Linked DNA regions of Homo sapiens: region 1 is linked to region 2. The links are contacts of gene promoters, found by promoter capture Hi-C in blood cells and fetal thymus (Javierre and others, 2016). All regions are on one chromosome and are shown on one strand. Each heading gives the region's core, a stretch centred on a gene start or on the middle of the fragment in contact. The rest is flanking DNA. Distances are from core to core; before and after follow the strand shown.

Region 1 (3,919 bases), core at 962-3,461, 110 kb after region 2:
AGGCTAACACAGTGAAACCCTGTCTCTACTAAAAATACAAAAGCAATTAGCCGGGCGTGGTGGCGGGCTCCTGTAGTCCCAGCTACTTGGGAGGCTGAGGCAGGAGAATGGCGTGAACCCGGGAGGCGGAGCTTGCAGTGAGCCGAGATTGCGCCACCGCACTCCAGCCTGGGCGACAGAGCGAGACTCCGTCTCAAAAAAAAAAAAAAAAAAAAAAATTCACTAGATGTGGTGGCATGTGCCTGTAGTCCCGACTACCTGGGAGGCTGAGGTGAGAGGCTCACTTCAGCCAGGAGTTGGAGTTGCAGTGAGCCACAATCTCGCCACTGCACTCCAGCCTTGGCAATAGAGTAAGACCTTGTCTCTATTTGAAAGAAAAACAAAAAAAGAATTAATGAAATAGAGTGACATGGCATTCACTCTCTAGAAATAGATTACATGGGTGTCCAGAATTTTATTTATGCTATACTATCATCTTTCCTGCCATTTTGTTTTACTTGCCATTATCAGCTGGAGTAACCTATTTCCTTTAAGGCCATTAGCTCCCTGCCTGAGATAAGTATTTCTCCAAGCTCAAGAAATAATGCTTTTATTGGGTTAACAGTCCGTGATGAGAACATCAGATATATCTAATTAAGCTAAAAACCATTTGGTTGCAAATAGGATATTTAATACAGGCAAAACTACTAGCTTGCTAATCCTTTCAGATAGACACACATTCTAGCAGACATTGAAGTTACCCTTTATTTATTGGTACTAAATGTTTTAGCAATTAGCTTCTCATGCTGTTTTCTCTTTCTGTTCCAAAGTACAAAAACAGATAACATATGTTTATTGGGCTAAGAAGTCTTGAAAAAGGCAAGCGAGTTTAAGCAAAGGGAAAGTATAAACCAAGTAATGTACAATAAGGAAAGGATAAAACAAAATCCTATGATATATAATCATTACTCTGGATTTTATATTAAGACAGAAGTGATTTAACTTCAGTGACTAGCAGTGTTTGTTTTGATTGATTAATAAATAAGACTTTGAGGAATATCACCTTTTTTGAGGATTTGTCTTAGATTTTAAGTGTGTTTTAGGAAATACTTATATGGAAAGAATGATAGATAAGTCAGTAGTTATACTACTAAAGTATCTGGTGCTGTGCTCTCTTTATTTTTAATACTTTTATTTTGGAATTACTTGGAAAATAGTAAATATTACTGATAATATTTAGGTCCTTCTGTTAATGTTTTACTAAATACTAGGTAAAGGTTATATAATTTCCTGGATTCCTAAAAGTACTTTTGTTTGCATGTATAGAGAAAATTCTTTTCTCCCATATTTATTTCTGATTTTATAACGGAAAAAGTATGCCTGGCATAGAATAGGTACGTGATTTGGTTAGTTGACATAGGTCTGAGTAAATGTAGCTAGAACAGCTCTGTTAAAAGAGACACGCCAATATTGCTTGTTTTTTCCTACTGTAATTGTGTAACAGCACACTGACTAAAATTACAAATCAGTGTCCTGATGTGGGTTTTTTTTTCCCCTCTATAAGTAAGAGAAGAAGGATTGTTGGCATTTTTCTTTGTGAGACTTAACTTGTAGCAACCATAAAATGTAACTATAAAACATTTTCATTTAGATTATATTTGTGAAAAATATAAAAGCTAAAGAATTTTAAAATTCCTAAACTATCAATTGAATTTTATGAACAAAAAATTGTGGATAAGCTTTTGGTTATTCCTGTCTCTATTTTAAATCTAAAAAATGAGAGAAGCCAGTGATTAACAGAAACATTAGAATTCTTTTAGTGGTGTTAAATGCTGTTTTTTGCATTCTAAAAATAGCTCAGGCTCATTATTGGTTTGGAAATTTGTAATGATAGAAATGGGGGGAGCCAAACAATTCAGAGACAACTATCTTTAGCATTTTGGTATATTCTTTCCAGATACATTTTTTAGATAGTATTGAATATGCCTAATGTACAGTTTTTCATCTTGCTTTTCTCCTTTAACATTCTTGTTATAAACTGTTAGCCTTTTTAGTGATTGCCCAACATTTTGAGTTGTATTACCTTAATTTACTTGACTTTGTATTTTAAAAACTAATTTCTGAACAAGTACATATACATATTCCTTTAAAGGGTGCTTGGATTATACTATGAATTAGTTTTTTAGAACTAGCAAGCTGATGAAAGAGCACCATTTTCCTACAGTTAGAAAAAAATGCATTATCTTACCTTGTGTGGTTATGCGTATCTGAATCACTGCAAAACTGCATTTGAAAGTCATCCTTAATATTGCCAGGATTCTGATTGGGTTAGATAGGATCTTTGGACTTTTTTACAATTTTCAGGTCAAAACCAATAGAAAAAAATAGCAACAGAAATTTTCTGTGGAATAATGATGTCACTAGCTCCCCTATAAACGTTCTCAAAGTAAGTAATTTCCAGGCTGTACCGTTTGGCACATGCACAGAGAAGAAACTTAACTGTTTATAATAGTGCGTGGTTTGTTTTTAGAGTTTTAAGAAAAAATCTGGAGTATATTTTAATGTAATATTATTATATTATTTATGTACGCTAATAATTATTATTTTAGGTCCACTGGCTATTCTGAGGTGATAGTTGTCGTTGGAGGATGTGAGCGAGTTGGAGGATTTAATCTTCCATACACTGAGTGCTACGATCCTGTAACAGGAGAATGGAAGTCTTTGGCTAAGCTTCCAGAATTTACCAAATCAGAGTATGCAGTCTGTGCTCTAAGGAATGACATTCTTGTTTCAGGTAAATATAGAATTATTACAGTAGCTACTTTTAATTTGGACACAGCTTCATTATTTTAAACATCAACAGTGTCTTAAAATAGTGAAATGTGAATACTCCCACTTGAGGAAGATCAGTTTACAACAAATAAAACCAAGAATGACTTTTTGCTCTTAAAAACAGGTACAAGGCCAGGCGCGGTGGCTCACGCCTGTAATCCCAGCACTTTGGGAGGCCGAGGCAAGCAGATCACCGGGTCAGGAGATCGAGACCATCCTGGCCAACATGGTGAAACCCCATCTCTACTAAAAAATACAAAAATTAGCCAGGTGTGGTAGTGGGCAACTGTAGTCCCAGCTACTCAGGAGGCTGAGGCAGGAGAATCACTTGAACTCGGGAGGCGGAGATTGCAGTAAGCCGAGATCGCGCCACTGCACTCCAGCCTGGTGACAAAGCAAGACTCCGCCTCAAAAACAAAAAACAAACAAAAAGCAACAACAAAAAAAACACAGGTACAAGATGACATGGAATGATTTACAAAAGATCCACCAGAAGATACCTTTAATCATGTCATATTTTAAATGCTCTCAAATGCATGTAGAATATGCTGTAATTTTTTAAACTTTACCTCTTTGCAAGTCAGAAGTACTCATAGAATTAAGCATTTCTAATTCACCCATGTTTTCTGAAATTCTCCGCAAAGTTTATGAAATAAGATTTGCTTTAAAATTCTTAACTTGAACTTCTTTATGATTGTGATATGTTACCTTTAAAATTAGAAAATAAAATGACAGACTTGTACAAAGTATAACTATAGTATCTATGATGGGAAGTCTGTTAATTGGTAAAATAATTTCACCAGCTTTGCAGATTATTATATATATTATCCACACTGAGAAATATAACAATACATACTTTATTTTTTACAATAGTATGCTTTTTGAAAAATCGGTCAATTAAAAAAAAAACCTTTAGAATAATACCATTATTTGCGTGCTTCTGATGTCTTACTCTTAAATTAACAATCTTTTATGTTTGTAAAATTCACATCCTATATTTAATTATTTTGGATCTATAATTATCACTTATCAAGATAACAATTGGTAAAGTTTAAATTTTCTCTGTAGAACTATTTCCATTAAATTTCAAGAGGTCTTTATTTATTGA
Region 2 (3,597 bases), core at 9-2,508:
GAGCACTTTGTGACTTGCCTAAAGTTTCACTGTCAAGAAGGAACCAAGTCTCCTGACTTCAGGCCTTCCCACTATGAGATCACCAGTTTATCGTAACTAGAGGCCTCTCCCATCTAAAGCATCTTTGTAACTGCTTTCCCTTTCCCCACACTGCCTACACATAAAGAAGCCCCTAATTTGTAACAAGTCATTTGACAACTCCAGAAGAGGGGCCACATCCTTTTTCTCTATGTCTGTTGATTAACAAAGACAACATTATGTTTCCAACACCAGTCAGACCAAGGGGGAAAAAAGTCCCCATGACTTCAGTAATTTTCCATCCTTTGGAACAAGGAAATATACACAAAAGGTTTACTATAGAATGTAAGCATTGCTTTTAAATGATGCCAATCTCTCTTTTAATGTGGCCTAAATCCTAAAATTTAAAGTGTGATAAGCCGGGCGCAGCGTCTCACACCTGTAATGCCAGCACTTTGGGAGGCGGAGGCGGGTGGATCACCTGAGGTCGGGAGTTCAAGACCAACCTGACCAACATGGAGAAACCCCATCTCTATTGAAAATACAAAATTATCCGGGTGTTGTGGTGCATGCCTGCAAATCCCAGCTACTCGGGAGGCTGAGGCAGGAGAATCGCTTGAACCCAGGAGGCAGAGGTTGCGGTGAACCGAGATTGCGCCATTGCACTCCAGCCTGGGCAACAAAAGCAAAACTCCGTCTCAAAAATAAATAAATAAATAAATAATAAAATAAAGTGTGATAGTGTCCTTTCTTATATTTTAAGTAGACACACAAGCCTTAATATATATGTAAACCATAAATATCATGGCCAACTGTTCAAGATTGGGCTCTCACACTAACACACCTCTTCCTTGCAACTTGCACCCAATTTGACTCTGGTCCTAGGCATGCTGACCTGAAATAGTTGCTGGCTGCGGCAAGCACCACGCGGTGGCAGGAGAATTCCTGAATGTCCACACACAAGATGACATCTGTCAGAGCGTTTTCCATTCGCAGGGTTTCCAGGCCATTCTGAAGAATTAAGGAGAGTCCCGCGTCGTCAAATTTGACCTTTTCCCCATTTAAGATCTCGACCAAGTCTCCTGTTTTCTGGGAGGGCTCATCTGTAGAAGGTGCCAGGGGCCCTTCCAAACTCTTCTCGACCACATCACCCATGGTCCAGGCGCCCCTTTGTCCTGCCATCAACATCGAGACTGAAGGAGCGCCCAAGTGTCAGGCAGGCCCCATTGCAGGAGCTGAGCGGATTTCCTGTGCAGGGCCCTCCACTTATCACCAGCTGTCACACACACATAACAGGAAGTCTCGCACTTTCTCATCCTGTTACTACAAATGCCAGCAACTTCTATTCTTCTTCTTTCTGTGAGTAATCACAGGGTTAGAAATTACTTAGAATAGGTGTGTGGGAGGGGGTTCTGGAAGAGGAGTGTCCTCTCAGAGTCCACTGTGAGTGCTGTGTGTTTATTTTGGTGCATCTCCCACCTCATATCCGTGAGCAGGAAGCCTCCGGTGGTGGCTGTTACATTTGTACTCCTAATGCTATCAATAACCCAAGTCGTCAATGAGGGGATGGACAGGAGACAGTCTATAATCCTCCTGCTTCACATTTGTACTCCTAGTGGCTCAATAACCCAAGTCGTCAGCGAGGGGATGGACAGGAGACAGTCTATGATCCTCCCACTTCCTCCTCCCAGGAGTCTGAGACCCCACAATGATCCAACAACCGTGCTTTGTAAACCATGGAAACCCCACTTATCCCTGACATTCTCATTTCTGGCGGCACTGCAGATCGTCTATCTTCATCCTCCTCCCTACCCAGGGGAAAACAACGTCATGGCAAACTTTCATGTCTTCCCCCACCAAAAAAAATGTCTATTGTTTCGAATATGCTTTGGGGGCACAGAAGAAATGGTTTCCAAAACTCCATCAACAGCATCTTCTCAGAGGATGAGTCAGGGTGGGTCTACACCGAATTGCCATAGCACGTCTCAGATTAGCCCAACATCTACTGACCGTGCATCTAACGGTGGATCCTGAAGTATTTTCATTACCTCTGCATGTCTCAGTTAAGTAGTAATAACTGTCATTATTAAAATCCCATGATATCCTGGGGAAGTTATAGGAGCGTATCAGTTAGCGTTCTCTCACGCCCAACAGTAATGCTTTACCAGGTTGCTAGGTATTTCTTAGCCCAGCAAACTTGACATCTAAAATTAACCATTACAATTACAGTCATACCCAGCATAATGATATTTCAGTCGATGATGGACTCCAGAGAGACAGAACCAAAAGGATACCTAGAGAGGCATAGCAGAGGGAAATTATTAGGGGAATTGGCTCACGTGATTATGGAGACTGAGAAGTCGCATGACAGACTGCTGAGAGCTCAGTTCAAGTCCAAAGGCCTCAGAACCAGAGAAGATGGTATAACTCTCAGTCCAAAGCCAAAGGCCTGAGAATCCAGGGGGTGGGGAGACTGGTGTAAGTCCTGAAGTCCAAAGGCAGGGGATCCTGGAGTCCTGTTGTTCAAGGCAGGAGATGACTGTATCCCAGCCTCAGGAGATAGAGACATCGACCTTTCTTCTGTTTTTGTTTTCTCTGGGCCCCTGGCTGATTGGATGGTGCCCACCCACACTGAGAGTGTATCTTCTCTACCGAGTCCACTCAGACTCACTAATCTCTCCTGGAAACAACCTCACAGACACGCCCCATGGTAATGCTTTAACAGGTTGCTAGGTATTTCTTAGCCCAGTAAACTTGACATCTAAAATTAACGGTCACAAGTACAGTCATGCCCAGCACAATGACATTTCAATCGATGATGGACTGAATATACAATTGTGGTCCCAAAAGATTATAATGGAGCATATAAAGAAACCTGACGGCCGGGCGTGGTGGCTCATGCCTGTAATCCCAGCACTTTGGGAGACCAAGGCAGGGGGATCACAAGGTCAGGAGCTCAAGACCAGCCTGAGCAACATGGTGAAACCCCCATCTCTACTAAAAATACAAAAATTAGCCAGTCGCGGTGGCGTACACCTGTAATCCCAGCTACTTGGGAGGCTGAGGAAGGAGAATCGCTTGAACCCGGGAGGTGGAGGTTGCAGTGAGCTGAGATTGTGCCATTGCACTCCAGCCTGGGCAATAAGAGCGAAACTCTGCCTCAAAAAAAAAAAAAAAGTCATGGAAAAATAATGCCATTCACAATGGTAATAAAACATATGTAAATGCCTAGCAATAACAGCAACCAGCAACATAAAGAAAACTAACAAACTTTACTAAGAGTTTCGAAAGAAAACTTAAATAAATATACCAAGTTCCTTTATGGAAAGACTAAATATTATTAAAAGGACCAATTCTTTCCGAATACATTTATAGGTTTATTTTACTCTAATAAAAATTACAAGAAAATTTGGAGTTTAGGTTTGTTTGTTTGTTTGTTTTTGAGACGGAGTCTTACTCTGTTGCCCAGGCTAGAGTACAGTGGTGCGATCTCAGCTCACTGCGACCTCCGCTTCCCAGGTTCAAGCGATTCTCCTGCCTCAGCCTCCCAAGTAGCTGGGACTACACGCATGCACCACC

What was found. The method cuts DNA at HindIII sites, captures the fragments that hold promoters and counts their contacts. A CHiCAGO score of 5 or more calls a contact.
Region 1: a fragment that was not itself captured here is called in contact with the fragment with the promoter of KLHL6 in region 2 in 2 of 17 cell types (megakaryocytes and endothelial precursors); the score reaches 5.4 in megakaryocytes.

The regions. Positions count from the first base shown.
Region 1 is chr3:183,660,870-183,664,788 of GRCh38, forward strand. KLHL24 (kelch like family member 24) reads left to right here. Exons shown (of 8, transcript NM_017644.3): 4 at 2,589-2,773. Among named protein-coding and RNA genes, the nearest start is that of KLHL24, 27 kb to the left of the region's middle. The HindIII fragment of the contact is 991 bases long and covers 1,717-2,707 here.
Region 2 is chr3:183,554,448-183,558,044 of GRCh38, forward strand. KLHL6 (kelch like family member 6) reads right to left here and starts at 1,259. Exons shown (of 7, transcript NM_130446.4): 1 at 914-1,259. The coding sequence starts at 1,206. The HindIII fragment of the contact is 8,561 bases long and covers 1-3,597 here.